Linked DNA regions of Homo sapiens: all the other regions are linked to region 1. Evidence: promoter capture Hi-C in 16 types of primary human blood cells and fetal thymus (Javierre and others, 2016). All regions are on one chromosome and are shown on one strand. Each heading gives the region's core, a stretch centred on a gene start or on the middle of the fragment in contact. The rest is flanking DNA. Distances are from core to core; before and after follow the strand shown.

Region 1 (7,826 bases), core at 1,560-4,059:
GCTAGATATACATTATGTCAAATTCTCAAAGTAGGCTTTGTCCAGAAATACTAAATACGGAAACACAATGAAAAGTGACTTGTCCAGAGCGACACCGCTAGTGAGAGGCAGAGATAGAATCCAACCCAGGTCTGCTTGGTTCCAAGGCACATGCTCTTTCCACTACACAGCACAGCACTTTCAAAGAATCTTAAAACTTTGCATGTGAAAGGAACCCTATCATAATAATGGCTGCCTTTTTAATGAAAATCTACAATGTGCCAGGTGCTTTACATACCTTACCTCATCTTCTTACAATAACCAATCAAGGGAAGTGATGGTATTACCGTTTATGGATAAGGAAATAAAAGAAGTCAATTGTCAAAGGCCACAGGCTAATAAATAACTAACCTGCGATTTAAACTGATGTCTGCTTAATTCAAGCCAAGAAAAATACTAAGATCAACTGAAAAACATCTACAAAAGACCCAGACAAAAATCACACAGGCAATCAGGTTAAGTAATAAATATCTAACCTGAGATTTAAACTGAGGTCTGTTTAATTTCAAGTTGATACTCTTTTGATCATGAGCTCAAAGAAATCAGAATGACCTCTGTGTACTCAATACTTCAATGGATGTCACTTCTAGAGGAAACTGCAATGGGCTAAGTATGGCTACAAGAAACTTACAGTGCCACCAGACTCACAGGATTTCAGGACTGGAAAATATTAGAGATCTGAGGGATGTACTCAGTTGCATTATTTTGCAGATGGGAAAACTGAAGCTCAGAGAGATTGCAAAACATTCATGTAAAAGGAGGATTTGAAGCAATGGAGACCAGCGCAAGGGCATTCCAGGTGAAGGGTATATTCTGAAGAAAAGCATAGAGGTAAAAATGATCATGCTTGAACTGTTAGCAATACAGGTAAAATGTACTATATAAGAAAGGAAAAAAATGAGGAATGCTGTCAAGTTATATGACCAAAGGACATTTCTTTTTAAAAAACAAAAATCTTAAAAAGGTTTTTTAGACAATTTTTCCATTTTAATAGAATACCTATCCCTGCTGTCACAGTTATTCCATCCAACCTTATCTAATACTTGATATGAATCTCTGTGCTGTGGCCACATTCTCTTTCGATTTTGTTTGCTGTTAGCACTGTGTCTGTACTAAAGCACGAGAATATGGATTTATACATTTTTTTCTAACCAATGTCTTCTCACTCAAAACTTATTTTGCTTTGTCTTTTAATTATTTTTCACTCTGAGTTGCGTACTGAAAGCCTAATGGCAAGAGTCTTAAAATCTCTGCATAAAACTTAAAGTTTACAGTAATTTTTTACTCCAAAGAGTACTAACTGAAACACAATAACTCAAAGAATACAGCCTCAGATATTTTATTACAAAATGTAGTACTACCATTAATTAGCATGATATAAAGAAATACTGGTCACAGACCAAAAACTGAGTTCGACAGTCTGAGTTTCTATGAAGAAAAGTTTAATAAATTATTCTCAAGGTAACAGTTTCAGAAGAAAAAGTTTTTAAACATTTTAAATATTTAAGAAGTTTTATTTCCTGGTAACAACTGTTAAAAATAATTTACAAATGTAATTTATTTACGCTGGTTGATAACAGAAAAAAATATATAAATTATTATAAAACTTTCTGAAGTCAAAATTGCTTTATTTACTAGGTTCAGGCATCATACGTCCAAAAATGTGAGGCTCCAAATTCAGGCGCAGCGGAGAGTGTGTTAATGAAGTTAGTGCTGGTATACTGACACCCTAGAGAAAAACCAGGTTTTCAGTTTATGTATCAGGTGCATGCAAAGGGCATTAAAAAAAAAGTGCTCTACAACGTTGGTCAGAAATGACTACATTACTTCTACTGGTATGAAAAACTGCAAACCCATCTCAGCCCCTATCAGACTGGCAGACACTAGTCCTGAAGCAACTGGGCCTAATCCAAAACTTCGGCGCAGCAGGTCACAGAGGAGGCGCCTGGGAAAGAGGAGATATCAAGTGAAAGTGAAGCAGGGAGAAGCCAGAAGCCGCCCCAGGCAGGTCAGAAAAGACTGTGGGGCTGGGAGGGAGGATGACAGGGTGTGGGGAGTGGGTGGGAGGAGGGGGTGTTATCAGAGGGAGAGCACTAAATGACACAAAGCAAAGGCAATCCTTAAAATGCCAATTCACCCTGGGAGACAGGGTGTGCACAGTGGAAAAGCAGGGTTTGGGTCCTGAACCCAGGAAAACCATTTCACAGACAAGTACACCGAGGTATGGGTTTCAAATACGGTCCTGCAACAAGGGAGCAGTACAGTTACGAGTAGACTGTGAGCCCTTGCAGGGTATAATTCAACCTGGCATTCCCCGCCCGCCCCAGCAGTGCCTAGCACTTGGCACAACCAGGAACTATCTCTGAATGAATGTCCCACGTCTTGAAACTCTAGGCTTCTTCCCAGACACCTGGGCTTCTGGCCTTAATACGCTAGGGTCCAGGACGGGAGAAACCCAGGCTGAGCGGGTCCGGAGAAGATGGGGCCTTGGGGTCCGAGTCCAACCACTGGCCCTCCGCCCGTCCACGGGCACTCACCCGGATGCCCTTCACCACGGTGATGTTCTCATTCTCGTCCGCCTCGAAGGTGACCCGGCGGGTGCTGGTGGTCCCACCCATGATTCCGGTTCCTGCCCCAGCGGAGACCTAGCGGGGAACCACGAGCACTTCGGGGCCCCCGCACCCACACGCGCGTGGAAGGGCCTGGATTCTTTTCCCGCACAGCGGGAGCAAGGCCACGACCCCCAGAAGCAAGGAGAAGGCGCCGGTCCTGAGCTCCCGCCTCCTCCGGTCACGCGCCACAACAAAAACGCCTCAGGTTGGTCGGCGATGCGAACTGCCCGCCTCTGTTCGGCGAGGGCGCCCGGATTGGTTCACCCGACCCGGATGCTATGGCAACAGGTGGTGTTTGATAGCTTTCCGCGGAGTCCCTGGGTGTAGTGGGAACTGTGGTCTCGATCTGGCGCGGTGGGTGATGGGACATTCTCTCCCCGCGCCTGAGCGCGCTAAGGGAGCACGGCATTCTGGGAGTTGTGGTTTTGACTCCCCAGAGACGCCTAACTGGGCAACTTTTTGAAGACATAATTCTAGAAATTTAGGCCACTAAGTTCAGAGACACAATCTTTCTCTCAAAGGGACTCACAGTTTAATGAAAAAGATGCATGATACTAATGAAGCCATTCCTAGTGTTCTATACACAAATTCCTGGCTCAAAACTTAGCGTTTCATTACAGTCGTAGGGTAGCTTAATGAAGACTACTTCTGAGAAATGCCTCGTTAGGTGACCCTGTGATATCTGTGGTTGTGCAAACATCATAGAGTGTACTTACACAAACCCAGATGGTGTAGCCTACTACACACCTGGGCTACTTGGTGTAACCTATTGCTCCCAGGCTGCAAAGATGTACAGCATGTCACTGTACTAAATACTGTAGGCAATTGTAACACAGTGGTATTTGTGTGTACAAATATATGTAAACATAGAAAAGCTACAGCAAAAACAGTGTAAAAGTGATTGCTTTGGCAACACATCTAGGACAATTTGAACAATACAGAGATTAGCACAGCCCCTGAGCAAGGTTGACACATGAATTTCTGAAGCATTCCATTAAAAAAAAAATCAAAGATAAAAAATGGTATGCTTCTATAGGGCACTTACCATGAATGGAGCTTACAGGACTGGAAGTTGCCCTGAGTGAGTCAGTGAGTGAGTGGGGAGTTGAATGTGAAGGCCTGGGACGCAACTATGCAGTACTGTACCTTTTATCAACACTGTGCACTTAGGCAACACTAAATTTATTTTCATATATTTTCATTCTTCAAGAATAAATTGACCTTAGCTTACTGTAACTTTTTAAACTTATAAACTTCTTTTTTTGTGACTTTTTGACTCTTTAATAACACTTAGCTTAAAACACAAACACACTATATAGCTGTACAAAAATATTTCTTTCTTTATATACTTAGTCTATAAGCTTTTTCTATTTTTGAAATTATTTACTTTTTACTTTTTAAACATTTTTGTTAAAAATTAAGACAAACACACACACATTAGCCTAGACCTACACGGGGTCAGGATCATCAATATCACTGTCTTCCACCTTCACATCTTGTCCCACTGAAAGGTCTTCAGAGGCAATAACACGTATGGAGCTATCTCCTATGATAACAGCACCTTCTGTAACACCTCCTGAAGGACCTGCCTGAGGCTGTTTTACAGTTAACTTTTTTATATAGGTAGAAAGAATGCACTTTAACCTAAAGATAAAAAGCATAGTATAGTAAATACTAGGAGACAGGAATTTTCCAGCTCCATTATAATCTTATGATTCCACTGCCAGAAATGAGGTTCTTCTTTGACTGAAACACTGTTATGCAGTACATGAATGGTGGCATTTTAGTAGTAGCCATAAAATAAAAAAATAAAAAACGTAAACGTGTGTTTGGTCCATGTCTCTTGTCTCATGAACTAGTATCTGTATTTTTTTCTTTTTGTAAAGTAAAATTTTAAGTACTATGGTTTTCAAACCTGTCTATGAGAAAATACATTTCTTCATAGAATAAATTATTTGCACCAAGTATGTAGAGAATTTACTTTCCACTTTTGTGTCTCCTTCTACTACTAGTTCAGTTACATAAGTTAGGCCATAATAGGGTTAGGCAGAGAAAAGTTAAGTGATTGCCAAAGATGGCATAAATTAGTGGAGGAATTAAAACTACATCAGAAAAGTTGAGATGATCTATTGTGGAAAGTTCCTATTAATAGTTCAACATTTCACCTCTACGAGACCAGTACATAGTTATTAGGTTATTCATCTACATATTTCTTTTTTGCTAAACACACTGTTACACATAAGTTTAGCCATATGACCTTAGTTTTACAGAGGCAGATGATTCTCAATAGAAATTAGGTTAATGATGGTACTATTCTTCAATTAATCCCTCTCAACATTAAAAGCAGCAGGCCACAACACACCATGGCATTCTCTTATGCCAAAGGCATCTACAATGCAGTCGCATTTTTGAGCTTCAATTATGTGCTGATCTATTACTGTATGAATCCAATTATGTGCTGATCTATTACTGTATGTATCTTTTATTTTTCTGAGACAGAGTCTCGCTCTGTCGCCAGGCTGGAGTTCAGTGGCGCAATCTTGGCTCACTGCAACCTCCGCCTCCCAGGTTCAAGCAATTCTCCTGCCTCAGCCTCCGGAGTAGCTGGGACTACAGGTGCGTGTCACCACACCCAGCTAATTTTTTTGTATTTTTAGTAGAGATGGGGTTTCACCATGTTGGCCAGGATGGTCTCCATCTCCTGACCTCATGATCCTCCCACCTCAGCCTCCCAAAGTGCTGGGATTATAGGCGTGAGCCACCGCTCCCAACCTTACTGTATGAATCTTTAGAGCAGAAACTATGTCTTTTTAATCTCTATATCCCTGGTCAGTAGCAGAGTGTTGATTACATCTCATCATTATATTCTTTTAAAATTGTACTATGTTACTTTGCAGTTATGAGACTACGTGCTACTTTGTACTTGTTCTCAAGTTTCCTTCTTTTTTCTTTTTTTTTTTTTGAGAGAGAGAGGGTCTTGCTTTGTTGCCTAGGCTAGAATGCAGTGGCCCAATCACGACTCACTGCAGCCCCAACCTCCCAGGTTCAAGCAATCCCTCCCAGTTCAGCCTCCCCAGTAGCTGTGACTACAGGTGTGTGCCACCACACCTAGCTGTGGTCTCACTATGCTGCCCAGGCTGGTCTCAAACTCCTGAGCTCAAGCAACCTTTCTGCCTTAGCCTCCCAAAGTGCTGGGATTACAGGCATGAGCCACCATGCCCAGCCTAACTCTTTCTTCTACTGGGAACTAAAGCTCCAAGGAATTATGACTTTCATTTTTTGGGGACCCTCCCCTCCACAAACACACTCTCACTTATTACCCCAATATATAGGGCATATCGGAGGTTCTATATAACACACATGCTCAACAAGCACTTACGAAAATAACCAAGTACAAAGAAAGCGTTCCTTGGAGAGAATAGAGAGATGAAGAAACCACTAGTTGTCTTAAATATATATATATATATCTCCAGTTAGAATATTAAGTAGAGTTCTTTCAACCAAATATATTAAAGATGATGAATGCCAAGCATGAGAAGGTAGTGGAGTGCCTTCATGTTTTATGATTCAAACACATATAAGTGGTCTAATCAAACAGACAATCCAAAAATGTTTTAGACATCCTAATGCATTTTAACCAACATTACAAAGATGCCTTCTGAGTTTAAAAAAAATTCAATGTATTCTTTAAAACAAAATGCCTTCTCTAACAATACTGTTCTATCCATGTCAATTTCTAGGCCAGTCATGCCTATACAATCCCTTCTTGAGCTACCCAGAACTTGTGGCCTCCCTTTCTTTCTGGCTACAGCTTATTAATAGTCATCTAATCCAAAGGCAGCATTTACTAGCCAGACACCTATGAGCTAGAATGCAAAGCTTTGCCCTAAGAAAAATAATAGCTAATACTTCAGCTACTCAGATTCTCCATGTTTTTCTCCGTTTTCTGTATCTCTGTATTCACTTTCTCAAATTTAAACTTGAAAATTCAGAGCATACAAAAAGATAGCAAGAAGAGAAGTTATAACACTGAGTCTGTACCATGAAGAATCATGGCAAACTAAAGATAGGTGGAATAAGAAACTGCAAGAAAAATAAAAGGCATCCAGACTGGAAAGGAAGAAGTAAAACTACCTCTATTCGAAGATAACATGATCTTACAAATAGAAAAATCTTACAGAATCCACTGCAAAACTAATTAGAACTAATAAAAAAACTCAGCAAGTTTGCAGGATACAAGATCAACATATAAAAATCAATTGTAGCCGGGCGCTGTGGCTCACACCTGTAATCTCAGCACTTTGGGAGGCCAAGTCGGGCAGATCACCTGAGGTCAGGAGTTTGAGACCAGCCTGGCCAACATAGTGAAACCCCGCCTCTACTAAAAATACAAGAATTAGCCAGGCGTGGTGGTGGGCACCTGTAATCCCAGCTACTCAGAAGGCTGAGGCAGGAAAATCGCTTGAACATGGCGGGCGGAGGTTGCAGTGAGCGGAGATCGCGTCACTGCACTCCAGCCCCGGAGGGAGAGTGAGACTCCATCACACACACACACACAAAAACTGTATTTCTATACACTGGCAATTAACAAGCCAAAAATGAAATGAGGAGAGCAATTCCACTTATAATAGTATGAAAAACAATTCAAATGTTCATTAATTGATGAATGGAAAAACAAAATGTAATATATCCAGAAAATGGAATATTAATGGGGAATAAAAAGGAAGAAAGTACTGATATATACTACAATATGGATGAACCTCAAAGACATTATGCCAAGTGAAAGAAGCCAGACACAAAAGGCGGTTGAAATGTTCAGAATAGGCAAGTCCATGGAAAACAAAAGAAGATTAGGCTTGGAGAGGGTAGGAGGAGGTGAGATGTAGAGTAACTTCTAATTGTTACATAGTTTCTTAACTTCTAATTGGTACATAGTTTCTTTTGGAGGAGTGATAAAAATGCCTAAAATTAGATTGTGATGGTTGCACAATGCTATAAGTATGCTGAAATTTATTGAAATGTACACTTCAAATGGATGAACTTTATGACATGTAAATTACATATTAATAACACCGTTAAAAGTATTAGCTAGGCATAGTGGTATGCACATATAGTCCTATTTATTCTGGAAGCTGACGTGGGAAGATCACTTGAACCCAGGACTTGGAGGCCACC
Region 2 (7,826 bases), core at 2,598-5,097, 1.6 Mb after region 1:
GCTTTAAAAAAAACTCCATAGGGCAGAGTTTGTGTTTACCAGCATATAAACAACAAGCATTTAAAGAAACATGGGTTTTTCCTTAGTGGAGTAGAGAATTTGTAAAAGAGGAAAGCACCTCTCTTGATTCCTCATGTTTCTACCTTTTTCCCCTATCCTTGTCCCAGATCTGAAAGTAGTGGGGAAAAAAAATCAACCTGGCTCTTTTCCTATGCCAAGGTGCTTAGTCAATGTTTAGTTTTACTGTAGGGGAATTTCACATAGATCAGGCTTCCCAATACCAGAGGTTCCTGGCTCTGCCACTGGGTCTGTACCCTCTTTGGCATTCACTTCCTGCCCATTACCTCCCTGGGTAGCTGCAAGATAGCTGGGGAAATCCCAGTCTCATGCCCTCTGCAAGAGTCCAGGTCTCCACTTGAGTGGAGAGCAGGAAAAAGAGGCAAGCGCAATGCCAAGACTTTACTGAGTAATTTGAATAAGAATACTTGTAAATAGGTAAAATGCTTTACATTTATCATTACCATAATTGTTAAGAATAACAACTACCATTTATGAGATGCTTTCCATGTGGCAGGCACACATCACATTATCCCACTTAATTTTCACATTAGCGATTTGGGTATTATCTCTGTTTAACAGATAAAGACACTGAGGCTGAGGTCAAGCAATTTGCCTAGGCTATTCTGCATTTTGCTAGCCTAGCAAAACCATTGGCTCCTTCCTTCCAGCAAACTCTAGAGTTAGCTATGATTGTGAGGCTTCCCCAGCCACATGGAACTGTAAGTCCAATTAAGCCCCTGAGTTCCCAGTGCTGGAAAGTGACAGACACAAGGTGCTTCAAAGATTGCAAAGCTATTCCAAAACTGCCTCCATGATTCTTCACCCTACTCTGTGAGGAAGATGAGGATTCTAAGTTTTAACTTCTGAAAGAAAGGGACAGACTTTAAGGTCCCTTCTGAGAGGTCTGGATGGCTGACCCATAACAGCATTTCCAGTTTTTAGTTTCAGAAAAGGGAGTCTTGTACTTAGGAGGTCAATGATGGGGGCCACGCATAGGTCTATTATACTAGGTTACGAGTGGTAAATTTTAATCTGACCCTGAAGTAAGTAGGGTACAGTTGGAGACTAAACACTGGCAGCAAATAACCAACTCATGGTGTGTCCTGATACTGTGAAGAAAAGGAGACACTCCTGTACATGGCATATAGAACTAGCTAACTCTGGAGTTTGCTGGAAGGAGGGAGCCAATGGTTCTGCTAGGCTAGCAAAAGGGAGAATAGCCTAGGTCCGTGGATGATGTTTTGATGCACGGTGGACCAATTCAGCCATACGTGGAAAAGGCTAGAGGCTCTGTGCACATAACTGTGAAATTATTTTGACCAGGTATGTATGCTATCAATAAAATAGTGGTTTATTCAGGTCACAAGGAAGACAATTTTCAACTAAAACTCAAAGTATCACATGGGTTAATACTGACTTTTTGATATACACCTGTAACAGAAAGGAAGACAAAGAGACAACATAGCTATAATAATTTATTGCTTTTCATTTCTTGTTTGGATAAAAGTGAGACTACATCAAAAGCTGTTTGATGACACTGAATTATTTTCATAGTATCTATATCACTTGCTGTATCAGAACTGAAGTCCTCATGACTGGTCTTCAATGGAAGTGAATCCTAAAATTAATCTTAATTTAAAAAATACATTGCTTTTGGGGTGAGGAGGAGAAGGCAGCAGGAAGAGGAAGCATCTTCCCAGAATTATATGAATTAGCAACCTTGGGTCCTAGCCCAGGATTTGTCCCCAACCAAGTAATTCTGAGCACATCACTTAAGCTTCAGTTTCTTTATCTGTACAACAAGGAGCTAGAGTTTAATTTCCAAAGCCCTGTCAAGTACTAAGTTTGTACAAGTCTAATATTCTTTGGAGTTCATCTTTGCCTTAAATGGATTTATGATCATCTTTGTGAACCACGACCTCGTTATTTAAAAATTCATAAGAGAGACAGCTCATCGAATAGACCAGGACACAGGGTTCAGGATATGATACTGTAACATAATTAAGTATGGAGAACAATCTTGCCATAGGGCAAAAGTAACTCCTGAAATTCTGTTAGCCTCTGTGCACATTTGTCTTACAAACATGCTTGCTCCTGATGAAAATCTGCTTTTTAATTCCTTCTAGACAGAATCACTGATATAAGCTTCCATCTTATATCAAAATGACTCATTCATAAGCCACATACTCTTGCGAATGATTCTAAAAGGCAAGTGATGTTTGATATTAAGGTTTTATGTGACAAGCTAGCATTCCATGGGTGTCCATAACAACAGTAAACTTAAATCCAATGAGTAGGCGCCCTTAAGTCCAGACTAAGTAGCCCTAAATGCCAAATGCCACAAGACTGTCACTTGGTAATGACTGTCATTAGCCTCCGGAGTATGGATGGTGGGCACTCTGAATAGGAGCTTTATTACACTGTAGAAGAAAAGCTTTCTCCTTACTTTGTCCTCAACTGATATTGAGAAAAAAGCAAGAGGGCAAATGTATAAGATTTGGAAGCTGCCCCTTCCAGCTGTTCTGGCCTGAACTCTAGTTAATCTTGTGCAAGTTAAATTCTAACTATCACTAGGTGAGACCTATCACCTGCTGGGACCTGTCAAGCCTCGGATTAGTGCCGTCCCGGAAGTAAAGTTCTGTTGATATCCCAGGAGGAACTGTCATGCTCTAACATGGATAAATGAGATACAGAACTGGCTACGATTAGGTCTTAATGAGTTCAATAAAGAGTGTGTCACAGAATTTCAAATGTGGAAAGATTATCTTTTCAACTGTATGTATAATTTATTCTGAGGACTTGCTTGCGTGTCACAAACCTAATGCATTTGTTAGGAGGATGAAACAGGAAAAACTCACAGGAGGACACGAAACACTACTTAGGATAGCTTCTAAGAAGGGAATCTCCCATAACATTCCTTATCTTTCCCGCCCACCCAAGAGTTCTGACACATATGCTTCAAAACCTCGTGTGGTAGTTCAAGCCTGCTTAGAAGCTTTTAAGGCCTCGTGCCAGGTTTCCGGTGTTTTCATAGATTTCTCTTGTTCAGTTATTGTCGCCTCCAAATTTGTCATTCTCTCATTCCACTCTAGCCTCCCTTCCTCTGTGCAATAAGCTTTTAGGGCATTCCATTAATCACTTTTCTTCCCCACCTAAAATACTGTCAGCAAACTGCCTAGGGGAATCCCTATAAAAGCGGTAAGAGAAAGTAAGGTTGCGTTACTGCCTATAAATTGGGCACTTTAAAGGCATTTGTTTTAATCACGACTTAAGACTTTCAACCACGAGTAATTTGTGCGAAAGGAGCTTCTTCTGGGAGGATACCTCGGCTTCGTCTTCAGGTTTCAATCCCTAAATTTCCCATAAGTAAAAGAAACATCACCTCCTCTCTTCCAAGAGTCCGCTGACACCTGTCTTCACCCGCAGGTGTTTCTTTTAAGACGTTAAACGCTTTCTAGAACCTCAAACAGCTAAGATGCTCCCCGCACCCGAGGTTTTGCACCAGCGACGCTCTAGGGTGTGTTTTTCTACTTCCCTAGGCCCAAGCCTGCCCGCTGGCGTCGAAGCCAACTCCTTACTGGTTCAGGTATGTGCTCGTCTCTAGAGTAAACCAATCAGAGCCCCACTTCTTACTCCTGGGATTTGGTAAACGGAAGAGACCTCTCCTGTTCCGGGAGTAGGCCGGGACCGTGGATGAGTGACAGTTCGACTTTCCAATAGGCAGAGCCCTAGGACCTGCCCACGTCTGGTTCAGGGGCTAGAAAAGAGCGTCGATGCCGGCGGCAGTGATGAGTCCTAGGAGGCGCTGGCTCTTTGGCGGCTCGGAGGAGCGGCTGCTGCTGCTGCTGCTGCTGCTGGTGGCCCCTTTGCAGGTGAGTGGCTTTGTTTTAGAAAATGTTGCGAACGTTTACATTTTTTAGTGATGTGATGTTTTATTTTTGGGTGCGGGGAAGGCCAGTTTCTTTACTTCCCCCGGTTTAGTCGTTGGTGGGAGTCTGGTGCCCACTCCAGCCCTCAAGCTGGGACCCTCACTTATCGCCCCGGTCCCTTTCCCTTGTCCCTATCTCAGAATGAGCCTCGCAGGCAGTCACCGTTCTGTCAACTGAGAGGAGGAGCCCGCTTTGGTAGTGCTGTCCTTATGGCAAGAATATATAGAAGTTGGAGGGAAGATAAACTCTCTTCTGGATGTCTGAGGTACTGTGTAGCAGAGCCCTTCCAATAGTAAGATCCCCTGGAAGGAAGCAGGGCGATGCCGCTGTATTTAGGGTTCTGGCAGACCTGGCCCTATCTATCATTTTGTGTAGTAGACAGAAAAACTCGAATGCGGTGAAAAGAGAAGGAGGTGAATATATGCAGTGTTTTCATGTAGGAATCTGGAGCCAAATCACAAGTTCTTAGAACCACTAGAAATAAAAACGTAAGTGTATTTTCCTCTTTTCTAAGGGACGAGCTGGTATTACACTAGAGAAGGTCAATGAAATGCATAATTGCAGTTAAGTTCACAGTTAAGCTTTAAAGAATAGTTGGTTGTTAGCTAACTTATAACTCTCATCCCCCTACTGCCTCCCTTGCAAATTACGGAAGATCTTTAGCTTGTGAGTGGTACTAGAATGTTAGCTGACTAAATGCAGACTCTTTCCAAGAAGGGGAAAAATCAAAAGCTAAGTTTCACCTGTAGGTACTAAAGGTTTTTTAATAGTGAAAGCAGAACTCATGTCAATTTGTCTTTTATTTTTTATTTTTTTTGAAACGGAGTCTCGCTCTGTCGCCCAGGCTGGAGCGACTGCAGTGGCTCGATCTCGGTTCACTGCAACCTCCGCCTACCGGGTTCAAGTGATTCTCCTGCCTCAGCCTCCCAAGTAGCTGGGATTACAAGCATAGGCCACCACGCCTGGCTGATTTTTGTATTTTTAGTAGAGACGGGGTTTCACCATGTTGGCCAGGGTGGTCTTGAACTCCTGACCTCAGGTGATCTGCCTGCCTCGGCCTCCCAAAGTGCTGGGATTACAGGCGTGAGCCACCGTGCCTGGCCTTGTCTTTTTTCTTTCTTTCTTTCTTTTGTTTTGGTTTTTTTTTTGTTTTGTTTTCAGACGGAGTTTCGCTTCTGTTGCCCAGGCTGGAGTGCAATGGCGCGATATTGGCTCACCGCAACCTCCGCCTCCTGGATTCAATCGATTCTCCTGCCTCAGCCTCCCGAGTAGCTGGGATTACAGGCATGCGCCCCCACGCCCAGCTAATTTTGTGTTTTTAGTAGAGACAGGATTTCACCATGTTGGCCAGGCTGGTCTCGAATTCCTGACCTCAGGTGATCTGCCTGCCTCGGCCTCCCAAAGTGCTGGGATTACAGGTGTGAGCTACCGCGCCCGGCCTTCTTTTTTTTTGAACTGCCTCCCGTGAGTCCAGGGAATAGCTCTTTCTTAGCCATCTTTGTATTCCAGTAGCACCTCATACACCGCAGATGCTCCCCAGTTGGTGGTGGACTTCAGAGAAGCATAATTCAAACAGTGTCATAGTGGAAGGAGCTCTGAGTTAGAAATCAAGAACATTGGCTTTAGTCCTGAAACTGTTACTATTTGTGTGATCTTAAACAAATCATTTCAACTGTGACTCTTAATTTTTGCATTTTTTTTTTGAGACAGGGTCTCGCTCTGTTGCCCAGGCTGGAGGGCAGTGGCGCAATCTCTGCTCACTGCAACCTCCACCTCTGCCTCCTGGGCTCAAGCGATCCTACCATCTCGATTTTTGCATCTTTAGAAAGCAGATGTTGCATTAAATTATATCTGAGATATAAACTCTGTATTTAAAGTCTGTTTTAAAGTAAAAATTATTAGTATACAAGCAGAATCTCATTGCAGTAAATTCTGTACCATCTATTAGCAAGTAAAAGTTCCCAGCTTCAAGGATATATTCTTGTTTTTTAATTTTTAATTTTTGTGGGTACCTAGTAGGTGTATATATTTATGGGTTACATGAGATATTTTGACATAGGCATGCAATGCATAATCACATCAGAGTACATAGGGTAGCTGTCACCAAAAGCATTTATCCTTTATGTTTCAAACAATCCAATTGTACTCTTTTAGTTATTTGAAAATTTACAATTAAATTGTTTTTTTTTTTACTATAGTCACCCTGTTGTGCTAGCAAATACTAGGTCTTATTGATCTTCCTATTTTTGTCCCCATTACAAGGATATACTCTTTTGTGTTCCTATTTAAACCAAACCAGATTATTGTAGAAAATTTGGAGCATACCGAAGTATAATGTGGCAGAAAAATGTCACTTAGAAGCAACTACTGTTAGTGTTTGGGTAGAGCTTTTAGTCTTTCTTCCTCTTTTGCCTGCTGTGGTTGGTTGAGATTAAGAGGCACATTTTAAGTAATGATTGATGCACCTAAATTCACCTGGCCTTCATCTTTGTGTGTCTGGGGCCTGAAGAACAGAGGTCACAAACGTGTTTGAACCGAATGGTTTCTTGAAACATCCTTGGAATGAAATCTGATATGAAAGATGTTTATATGGGTGGCAGGACAAAAAGTATTACTTAATAACAAAACCCTTCTGCTGAAACTTAGCCACAAATATGAGGAAAACATACTTTGTAAAATATAAATTAAATGTTAACCACTTCATTAAAGCATTTGGATTGCAGAATATTAGTACTTGGTAAGCTTCTGAGACTGTATCTTACCATCACCTTCTTCCATCCCACAATATTTGATTGCATTCCTCCTTCTACCACCTAATTTAAGCATTTCTCCTCTAATTCCTCCCTTCATTTTACTTTATTCCCAGCTTTCGCTTCTGCTCATATCATCGGCAAGGTAGGATTGCTTTGACGGGCCTGAGATCTGTGCCATTATTTATGAGTTAGTCAAAGTCTGCTCCATTCTACCTCTCACTTTTTGGTAGAGTGCTTCACCATAATCTCATTTAATCTTTCTGATAGCCCCCTGAGAACAGTAGTTTCATGATCCTCATCTTTATAGATATGGAACCTGAGGTTCAAAGAATTTAAATAAGTTAAGATCACATTGTCAGTCAGTAGCAGAGCTGGGCTCATATCTAGGTTGTTTTTACTTTAGACTTTTGGAATTTGGTGGACACAGTTTGTGTTGATAAAAGCTACTACCCTGGGGAAGACAATGACCAGAGATAGGAAGGAGGGGTCCGTCATGAGTGGGTGTTGTCCACAGTGGTGATGCCATGCAGGCTGGAACATGCAACATGCCCTGAGCAAATGCACATCTCATTACATATGTATATCTCTTCGCCATGAGTAGGGATCTGCCTGGTATGGTTGGTTATTCTTGTAACAAGCAATCAGTAGGAAATATTAGTAGATGTAAGATTGGGGAATGAGAGGGTTTTAGTGTCTGGAAAACACCTGTAAGTGGTAACATTTGCTCCTGTAAAATGATGTTCTTATAACTGCAAGTACAGATGAAAAAGTTTCTACAAAGCCTTAGGAAAAGTAATAGACCATGGAACACTTTTAGGTACAGTTGTGTTTGAACTTCTAATAGTGAACTTGATTTGGGGGAAGGCATAGTTTGTTAAGACATTAAAAGCCTTGGCCGAGCACGGTGGCTCACGCCTGTAATCCCAGCACTTTGGGAGGCCGAGGCGGGCAGATCACGAGGTCAGGAGATCAAGACCATCCTGGCTAACATGGTGAAACCCTGTCTCTACTAAAGATAACAAAAAAAATTAGCCGGGCGTGGTGACGGTCACCTGTGGTCCCCGCTACTCAGGAGGCTGAAGCA
Region 3 (7,826 bases), core at 1,479-3,978, 1.2 Mb after region 1:
CATTTATTTGCTCTTTATATCCCATCGGTTCCACCTCACAAGTATCTCTAGATTCCAGCCTTTCTTGTCCATTCCCATTGACATCCACTTCTTCTCCCGTAAAGGCCTCCTAACATCTTGGTGCCTTCAGCCTCTGTGTTCTTTAACCCATCCTCCCTGCTGCCTCCAGGCTGATTCCAAAAACAAACCCAAAATCTTCATGTCCCATTGCTATTCTAAGATGTCTTTTCTAATTGTGTAGTACGACATAACAAACCACCCCAAACTGTAGTGATTCAAAGCAAAACAAACAAATAAAAAAACCCACACACTGTATTTCTCACTCAGGTTCTGTGTGCTGACTGTGCCCAGCACACAGCTGCTCTGTCCTCTTGGGGTTCTCATGCAGTTGCAGTCAGATGTAGGCTGGGGTTGGAGTTCCCTGAAGGCTTGAAAGGGTTGATCCCCGAGATGGCAGGAGCAAGTCTCTTGACATGGTGTCTCTTAGGCTGTGCTTGCTCACAACATGGTGGATTCAGGATAGTTGGAATTCTTAAATGGTAACTTGTTTCCCCTGGAACAAGCATTCCAAGATATTAAGTCAGAAGCCGTCGTGGCTTCTGAAGTCACACAGTGCCACTTGTACCACATTCTATTGATTCCATAGGACCAAGCCTGATTCACTGTGGGAGAAAACTAACAAAATCATCAGTTGTGTCTGTGTGGGAGGGACGTCTTTGAAGTCTAGCTATATACAATGTTCTTGATTCCTTGTGTAAAAGCCACGCTTAGTAGAAGGCATATAAACATCACAATCAAGCCTTAGTTTACCTCTTTGGTTTTACCTTGTGTCACTCTCCCTAGGGTTACCTGGGCTCCACCCACATAAACTCACTCTCTTCCCTGAGTTTACAGTAACTTTCAAAATTCTTATCTGTGCATACGCTGTTCTGTCTGCTTGGAATATCCTTTTCTCTTTAGCCAACTCCTGTTCATCTTTTTACGGTGGCCAGAGAGGACAGTAGAGTCAGTGGATACCTCTATATTGTGCAGGAGGAAGGTGCTGTGCTAAGATGTCACTTTTCTGTGTGTAGCTTTTCTTTCCTTTTTTTTTTTTTTTTTGGAGGGGGAGTTTTGCCCTTGTTGCCCAGGCTGGAGTGCAATGGCACGATCTCGGCTCACTGCAACCTCTGCCTCCCGAGTTCAAGCGATTCTCCTGCCTTGGCCTCCTGAGTAGCTGGGATTACAGGTGCTCACCACCACACCTGGCATATATATATATATATATATATATATATATATATATATATATATACAGAATATATATATATTCTGTATTTTTAGTAGATACGGGGTTTCACCATGTTGGCCAGGCTGGTTTCGAACTCCTGACCTCAGGTGATCCACCTGCCTCAGCCTCCCAAAATGCAGGGATTGCAGGGATTACAGGGATGAGCTACTGCTCCTGGCTGCTTTTCAATGAACCATTCATGGCTCCCTTCTCTATACCTCCAGCACTCCTCCATACCCCCACTAATCCATTAATCATGTTGCACTGTAGTTATCTGTTTTCATGTTGGTCTCCCCCTCTAGACTAAGCCTTTGATGAACAGAATCCACAAATAACTAATTTATCTCTAGATCCTCAGCATCTTACATGGTGACTGGTACATAATATGTGCATATACCTTCTATTCAATGACTGAATGAATCAGCTTGAAGTAGTCAAATAATTCACACCTCATGAATACATGATATTTTTCAGCTTGACTAATTTTAACAATGTAAACATCAAAAATGTACTGCTCAGTGAATTTGCATGAACAGTGGTGTATAACCAATACTCAGGTTAGGAAATAAATGAGTACCAGCATTCCAGCAGCTCCTGTGCCCCATTCCAATCACTAACCCCCTCCAAGGGCAAGCACTATTCTGACTTTCTAGCACCAAAGATAAGTTTGGTCTGCTTTTGCACTTTACATAAATGGAATCATGCAGTATATTTCTTTTGTTTCTTCTTTTTTTTTTCTCAACATTATGTTGTCAGTTCAGCTACATTTCTTTGTGTATTTGTAGCTCATTTATTCTTACTGCTGCATAACATTTCCTTGTATGAATATACGACAACTTATTTGTTCTCTGGTGATGGACAATTTGGCTATTATTAATAGTGCTACTGTGAAATATCTTGTACATATCTTTTGTACATTTCTATTGGATATCAGCGTATCAATTAAGGTCCAGTCAGGAGGCAAAAATTGTATAGTAATTTGAACAAAGAAAGCTTAATATAAAGAATTATTAACTAGTAGTATTAACTAGAAGATAAACTACTATAAAGGATTAAAAGAACTCCCCAAATTATGGGAATAGCAGATACAAGGAGTAGCCACTACATAAGACTGAGTCAGACTACCCAAGAAAAGAACATATTTGGAAAAGGGCCCTCTCCCCTCCTCCCCAAATGGAGATTCAGACCTCATTGAAGGGGGTAGTGCTGCAGTCCTCTGGCTAGCAGAGAAGTTCAGTGAGGTGCTGATGAAACTCACCTAGGGTCATCCTCTGGGGTCCAGGTAGGGCACTGGTCAGCTCATTGAGAAGCTGCTGGTGGAAGTTTTGTACTTGCTAGGAAGCTGGGTGGAGCTCTGGCAGAATTTTCTGGATACCAGCTGTGAGGATACTAGTTAGTCCACCAGGGTGAATTCCCCAGGGTATCCTACATGCTGGCTGAGCACTGCATGAGCAACATGGAAGAAAGCACACCAGAACCAGAACTCCTCCCTCAGTGTCCCTGCAGCCCCCTCTGTGACAAAGCTCCACACTGTGCTCCCCATCAGAGGAGAAACGTCCACAGGGTCAAGCTCCAGCATCCCAAACAAGGCCATGAAGGGTGGATTTGGAGTGGAGAGGCCATAAATTGACAACTAGAACATCCAAGAGTTTTTTTGGGGGTCATGCCGACTTCAACATTTTGTTTTATCATAAAACCAAAGTTATGAAGTATAGCTATGATTTCATCTCACAGATCTTTTTTTCTTCTTTTATTACCCTGAGTTCAGAATTCTAACATTTTTGAATGAATAGCAACTTCTTAGACACCAGCTGTGCTCAACATGTTTAAACCTCTTCACAGTCCTCTTACCTTATAAAGAAGGATCTATCACTTTGGGAATGTTCATTGTCTTTGACCTAGTGTTGTCAGTGGGAAAAGCTGTCAAGCTTGTTCTAAAAGCCATTTTTGTTTCTAGTTCTAGACACTCAGACACATTTTGAATCATTTGTAAAATTCACTTAAACAACTTGTTGACAAAAAATTAAATAATATACCTCTGATGGAATACTGCCTGATAAGTCTCAAATTGCCAATCCTACAGAGATCTGTCATTTGATTTTTTAAAACATCTTTTCTATATCTATCATATGATGATTATTTTCTCATCTTTGCATTATGTAAATCTTGAGATATTTAGAGCTGTGCACTATAAATATACTTCAGATATTATTCATAGAGTCAAAATATTCTTGTTGTTTGTTTCATAGGTCAGATTCAAGCAATGCCCTGGTATATTAATAGACTTATGAATGCTAATATTTTCAAGGGCATTATTTGAAGACATATTTTTTCAGATTACTATAATTTGGGAGTATGACATTTTGGCTAGGAAGAAAACCTTCTTGATCAGAATATTAGTGGCCCAAGGACAAGGGCTTTGTCTTATTAGCCACAGTATCCTCCATATCTGGATGACATCTGGCTTATAGTAGGTGCTCAGTAAGTAACAGCTGGAGGGAAGGAGTGAAGGAAGGAGAGAAAGAAAGAAATAGAAAAAGAAAGAAAGAAGGAGAGAGAGAAAGAAAGAAGAAAGAGAAAGAAAGAAAGAAAAAGCAGGGAAGGAAGGAAGAGGACCTTTCAAAAAACCAGCTACTCTTTAAGGGACTCATAAACAAAACAGGTGAGCGTTTGAAAATGGTACCTGCTATGAGAGAAAGTAAGTACGAATAATTACCTGAAGAAAATTTACAAAGAACTCAAACAACTCAACAAGAAAAAAACCATTATAAAATTGGACAAAAGACATAAACAGACATTTTTCAAAAAATGACATGCAAGCAGCCAATAACCATGTGAAAAAAAATGCTCAATATCACTAATCACATAATTACACCAGTCAGAATGACTATTAAAAAGTCAACAAACAACAGATGTTGGTGAGGATGCAGAGAAAAGGAAACACTTATACACTGTTGGTGGGAATGCAAATTAGTACAACCCCTATGAAACAATAGAGAGATTTCTTGAAGCAATTCCACTACTGGGTATCTACCCCAGAGAAAAGAAATAATTATATCAAAAAGATACCTGCGCTAGTATGCTTATTGCAGCACTATTCACAATAGTAAAGACATGGAATCAACGTAAGTATCCATCAACAGATGATTGGATAATGAAAATGTGGTATAGATACACACACAGTGGAATACTACTCAGCCATAAAAAAGAATGAAATCAAGTCTTTTGCAGTAACATGGATGGAACTGGAAGTCATTGCCTTAATGAAATGATTCAGAAACAGAAAGTCAAATACTGAATGTTCTCTCTTATAAGTGGGAACTAAATAATGTGTACACAGGGACACAGAGAGTGGAATAATAGATACTGGAGACTGGAAAGGGTGAGAGGGTAGGAGAAAGGTGAGGAATGAGAAATTACCTGATGGGTACCATGTATACTCTTTAGGTGATGGGTACAGTAAAAGCCCAGACTTCACCACTATGCAATATATCCATGTGACAAAACTGCAATTGTATCCCCTAAATCCATAAAAATAAAAAATTTAATTAAAAAAGAAAAAATAATAATTCCCCGAAGAAACAAACCTTAGTGCCCATGACTGTGGGTGAGCTCCTGAACAGCAGGTACCAGAGCTCGTTTATCTAAGTACCGTACCATTTTCCCCTTTATTGTTGCTGAAAAGATGTTTGTTAAATTATATTATTGAACTGAGGTGGCAAATCTAACTGAGGAAATGAGACTGTTTATACCACCTTTAGGCGCGGTGGCTCATGCCTGTAATCCCAGCACTGTGGGAGGCCAAGGCAGGCAGATCACCTTAGGTCAGGAGTTCAAGACCAGACTGGCCATGGTGAAACCCCGTCTCCACTAAAAATACAGAAAATTAGCCGGGCATGGTAGCCTGCCCCTGTAATCCCAGCTACTCAGGAGGCTGAGGCAGGAGAATCGCTTGAACCCGGGAGGCGGAGGTTGCAGTAGGCCTAGATGGTGCCATTGCCCTCCAGCCTGGACAACAAGAGCGAAACTCTGTCTCAAAAAAAAAAAAAGAATCATGTCGAATAATCAAGTTTTCTCAGTTCTTCACTCATGTCAAGTGTGAGAAGTCTCCAAGTTTTTTTCCACTGTGCCTCTACCCCCTTGCCTTGTATAGCTGATAATATCTTTTTTTTTTTTTTTTTTTTTTGAGACGGAGTCTTGCTCTGTTAACCAGGCTGGAGTGCAATGGCATGATCTCGGCTCACTGCAACCTCTGCCTCCCGGGTTCAAGCCATTCTCCTGCCTCAGCCTCCCAAGTAGCACCTGTAGTAGACTACAGGCGCACACCACCATGCCTGGCTAATTTTTATATCTTTAGTAGAGATGGGGTTTTACCGTGTTGGCCAGGATGGTCTTGATCTCCTGACCTCGTGATCCACCTGCCTCGGCCTCCCAAAGTGATGGGATTACAGGGTGAGCCACTGTGCCTGGCCAACTGATAATATCTTAAGGGAAAAAATACCAAACCTATGGGATCATTTAGTTTTCCTACTCTGACTGCCACCTTTCTCCTCTGATTCCGGCATTAGGTGCCTGGGAAGATGTTACTAACCCATGTACCAAGCATGTGCTTTGATCTGCTGTTCCAGGAAGTAAATGCAGCACATTTCAGTTTCTGACAGTTTCAGCTTATAAAGTGATCCCATACAGAGCTAGTCTACCTCCTACATGAATCATATGAAGCAGATAGGCATTATTAGTTCTAGGAGAAATATGATTAAATGTATTTTCCAAGGCTCACTGGTGTGAATGCATGAGGCTGGGCAGGTAAGGTAAAGTGGGTAAAACTGATTTCTAAGGTAAATGTGTGAAACTGGCCATAAATCATAGGAGTTTTGCTGGGGAATTAAAAAGTGTAAGCTCTGTCTGAATACATTTGAATTTACATTTTCAACATTATTTTTCATTGTGGTAACATACACATAACATAACCATTTTGACCATCTTAACTATTTTAGAGTGTAAGGTTCTGTGGTATTAAATACACTCACACTGTTGGGCTGCCATCCCCACCATCCAGCTCCAGAACTCTTTTCATCTTTCAAAACTGAAACTCTGCACCCATTGTACAATAATTCCCCATTCCTGCCTCCCACCAGCCCCTCGAAACCTCCATTCTACTTTCTACCTCTATGAATCTGACTCCTCTAGGTACTTCATATAAGTGAAATTATACAATATCTGTCCTTTAGTGACTTATTTAATTTAGCATAATGTCCTCAAGATTCATCCATGTGATAGCGTATGTCAGAATCTCCTTCCTTTTTAAGACTAAAATAATATTCCACTCTATGCATAGCACACATTTTGTCTAACCATTCATCATCCACAGACCCTTGGGTTGCTTCTACCTTTTAGCTATTGTGAATAATGCTGCTATGAACACGGGGATACAAATGTCTCTTTGAAACTCTTTCAGTTATTTTGGGGATATACCTAGAAGTGAAATTCCTGGATCGTATGATAGTTCCATGTTTAATTTTTTGAGGAACCTCCACACTGTTTTCCACAGTGGCTGCACCATTTTATATTTCTACCAACAGTGCACAGGGTTCCATTTTCTCCATATCCTTGCTAGTACTCGCTATGTTCTGTTTTTTGTATGGTGGCCATTCTAGTGAGTGCTTGGTGGCATCTCATTCTGGTTTTGATTTGCATTTCCCTAACGATTAGTGATGTTGAGCATCTTTCCACGTGGGTATTGGTCATTTGTATATCTTCTTTGGAGAAATGTCTATTTAAGTCCTTCAAATTCACATTGTTAAGGCATGGCATACACCAATCTTTGAGCCAGATTTCTTCTCTAGGCTGCTGGCTTATGACCCCGATAATGTCCTAAGTGACAGAGCCAGGAAAAGGATGAGCCAGCTCTTTAACACCCTCATTTGATACCAGCTCATTCACTCCACCAGCTTACCCCGACAAATTACTTTTGGGATTGGTGACACTTTTAATTTGTAATATGTACAAAGGGTACAAAATTCAAAAGGTCTAGAGGATACTAGTGTAAAATAATTTTCCTGAGCCCCAATAACCCACTGCTCCCATTTTGAAGCAACCAGTGTCACCAGTGTTTTGTACATTCTTCCATTTTCTACAAAATATGTAGTTTTTTTCACTCACATGCTGTTTTTTCCTTAAAAATAGATCTTAGAGAATATTTATATTAGTAGTGTGTTGTTCTTTTTAATGACTGTATAATATTCCATTTATTATTATACTATCTTTTATTTAACTGGTTCCCTGTTATTGAATCTTTAGGTTGGTTCCCATCTTTTGCTCTAACAGGCAGCACTGCATTGAATATCATGATACATACTTTTGAGTAAACTAAACACATGGACAACTGGCCCTTGCTTGGCTATGAAACTTAGGTTAACTGACTGACATGCCTTAGATTCATAACTGTAGCATTGATAGTACAAGCTTTCAAAGAACTCCTGCAGCCAAGGATTCTTCTTTCCAAATCTCCCTATAACCAGATAGTTTAAACAAAATCCAAACCTCAAATACAAAT
Region 4 (2,569 bases), core at 70-2,569, 1.0 Mb after region 1:
AAAACGATCGAGATTTGCATTTTTACACTTTCTGCCTGATTCTTCCCTATGTCACTTAGCCGAAGCCAGGCCCTACGAGGGTAAGGGTGGGGAAAATTCCCTTGGAGGAATCTCTACTTATTGGAAAAAGAAATAAGCAAAAAGCAAGATGAGCCTGGCAGAAAGAGATATTTTGCTTGTGGCCTTTACATTTATGACTAGCAAGATAATGAAGGAAGGTAATTCTGAAAGCTTTATGTCAGTTTTAACGGTCCCTCAAGCACTGAGAAAGATAATCGTCAATGGATGGTGTCCATAAGGATTTTTTCTCCTTCTCCCCTGACAGCCATTGACAGGATCATTTTGTATTTGCAACTGCTGTCATTGAAGCGTGCAGAAAAGGCCCTGTAAGGCCAGAAGGATGAGGGCTACTTCCCTGCAAGGATCTCTATTGTCATCACTATGGCAATAATAGTTACTATAATTTTCATTCTGCTTTTCTATAGAGTGTCGACGTTGTGGAGCTTAAGGCTATGGGATTTGGGTCACATAAAATCACACTAGCATAAAATCGTGCTTTGTTATCTTGAAAGAGTATTTTTTTTAACTGCAAAGAGAGCCTGTGCAACAAGATTAAAATAATTGCCAATGCAGGTCACTTGACTAATATAATTATTTATGGGATGCTAATAGCTTTTCAGACGCTTTCAGATACAGTGTCAATTTGACAGCAGTTTTTTCTCTCTCTGTTTGGATTGTAAGACCACTGCCAGTTTTTCTCCCCAAGGACAAGGCTTATCATTGGGGGGTGGGGGTGGGGAATGTAAATTAATTGGAAATCAGCTCTCAGGCGTCGTCTGGTAGTTTCTCTTTATTATCTGCAATTAAATCATAAGGACAGGAACCATGCCTTCTATTTCACTTATATGCACCCTCATCTCCTAGCGTCGCGCTTTGCATAAATTTCAGTGGTACTAGCTTTCCTACAGACTGCTTTAGAGACATTAGACACTTCTAAAGTACGACTCTGCGGAAAGAGCCCTTTGGGAATGAAGCGGCAACGGTGGCGCACCTGCGATCCTATCGTGGGATGACAAAGCTCTAAGAGGGGTCTCAGGGTAGGGAGGAAACAGCTGGAGACAAAGAAAGGGGGTGTAGCGAAAAGAGGTGAAAACAGGAAAGATAAGCGAACAGAACAGACCAAAGAGAGAAAAATAACAGAAGAGACTGAGAAAAAGAAAAGTCAAGTGGAGCGCCCACTGCCCCGCCTGCAGAAGGCGAGTACGCGCGGAGGAGACTACAGGCCCCAGAATCCTCCGCGGTTCCCCTTGCCTGGGGTCAGTCTCCTAGGCAACCCCGCTAAACAAGATGGCGACCTCCGAGAGGGCTCTCCTGAGGACCAGAGCTGCCTCTCTCCTGAGAGGCTTGGGCAGATCCCGAACTGGAGCCCGATCGTTACAGTTTCGCGCAGAAAAAGAGCGTCAGCCTTGCTGGTCTTTTCCCATGGGGCAGAAGACGAAAGGCAGCTCTAACATAGCCTCCTCCTACCTGCTCCAGCAGCTCATGCACCGCTATCAGGAGCTGGACTCGGACGGAGATGAGGACCAGGGCGAGGGCGAGGCGGGATCCGAGGAGTCCTCAGAGTCCGAAATGCTGAATTTGGAGGTGTGTCTTCCCCCCCACCCCGTACTCCCTGGCTCCCTCGTCCAGCCCTGTTACTTCAGCGGCAGCTCCCCGATGCACCCCCACCAGCCCGAAGCTTCCCACACCTTCTCAGGCTCTCTCGCCTCCAGGAACGCCTCTTCCCCCTCTTTTCTTCCCCTGTCTTTTACCCCGTTTTCTCACCCCCTGCCTGAAATAGCTCTAAATAGTTCCTTTCTTTTTTCATTAACACATTTGATTTCTTATGAGTCGAGTTAACACAGCGTCACTTTGTAAGAGTGTCTAGATAATTGTCTGGGAATTATGGCTTTAGCTTTTTCAAAATTATACTTTGACAGTATTGTGAATAGGCAGAGTTCATCTCTGACATTGCCAGCACCTGTTGCCCATGGCTATGACATACTTCCACACTCTTCCTCAGTTCTAGTCCCGTCAGCCTCCCTCCAGGAAAAAAAAAAAAAAAAAAATCCGCTTTTGAAAGTGCTTCTTCAAAGACTAAGTGACTTAAAAGTTGAATACATTACTTCTGTCGGGGGCATATGCCTTATACAAGCAACATGCACACACACCAGAAAAGAGCCTTATAATGTTCGAACAGCCAGCTCATTGTGGGAATATTTTAGGATGTGGGGAATGTTCCCATCATCCCACCCATATTGACTGGGATGGCGGCTTCGCGTTTCACATGACTGCCATTCCCTCCTTTCTACAATATCTCTTCTGACCACCACACAATTCCTCTTCTTTCTTATGCTTATTATGGTCCTTTTCCTTTCTTAGTCCATTGTTGTCTTCTTGTCCTTTTCCACTTCTCATCACATCACTTCTTTTCTCTTGGCTTCTAATAAATTGCTTTCTTTCAAAAGCGTAATTTAATTTGCTTCCTTTCTATTTTGTTTATGTTTTTGAGATGGAGTCTGGCTTTGTC

Evidence for each region. The method cuts DNA at HindIII sites, captures the fragments that hold promoters and counts their contacts. A CHiCAGO score of 5 or more calls a contact.
Region 2: the fragment with the promoter of BPGM here is called in contact with the fragment with the promoter of CHCHD3 in region 1 in 1 of 17 cell types (monocytes); the score reaches 6.2 in monocytes.
Region 3: a fragment that was not itself captured here is called in contact with the fragment with the promoter of CHCHD3 in region 1 in 1 of 17 cell types (non-activated CD4 T cells); the score reaches 7.4 in non-activated CD4 T cells.
Region 4: the fragment with the promoter of LRGUK here is called in contact with the fragment with the promoter of CHCHD3 in region 1 in 11 of 17 cell types (total B cells, fetal thymus, non-activated CD4 T cells and 8 more); the score reaches 20.4 in total B cells.

What each region holds. Positions count from the first base shown.
Region 1 is chr7:133,079,281-133,087,106 of GRCh38, forward strand. It overlaps CHCHD3 (coiled-coil-helix-coiled-coil-helix domain containing 3), which reads right to left and starts at 2,810. Exons shown (of 8, transcript NM_017812.4): 1 at 2,577-2,810. The coding sequence starts at 2,657. It also overlaps the pseudogene RNU6-92P. RefSeq lists enhancers at 2,543-3,177, 2,593-2,772, 2,983-3,092. The HindIII fragment of the contact is 4,501 bases long and covers 1-4,010 here.
Region 2 is chr7:134,643,006-134,650,831 of GRCh38, forward strand. BPGM (bisphosphoglycerate mutase) reads left to right here and starts at 3,848. Exons shown (of 3, transcript NM_001724.5): 1 at 3,848-3,932. All of the region lies in intron 1 of LOC124901750 (a long non-coding RNA gene), which reads right to left. RefSeq lists enhancers at 3,825-3,974, 4,075-4,184 and a silencer at 7,192-7,486. The HindIII fragment of the contact is 1,395 bases long and covers 3,174-4,568 here.
Region 3 is chr7:134,319,832-134,327,657 of GRCh38, forward strand. It overlaps a transcript of SLC35B4 not described here. Among named protein-coding and RNA genes, the nearest start is that of SLC35B4, 6.8 kb to the left of the region's middle. The HindIII fragment of the contact is 935 bases long and covers 2,262-3,196 here.
Region 4 is chr7:134,126,021-134,128,589 of GRCh38, forward strand. LRGUK (leucine rich repeats and guanylate kinase domain containing) reads left to right here and starts at 1,320. Exons shown (of 20, transcript NM_144648.3): 1 at 1,320-1,644. The coding sequence starts at 1,348. RefSeq lists enhancers at 1,173-1,222, 1,333-1,602. The HindIII fragment of the contact is 1,507 bases long and covers 230-1,736 here.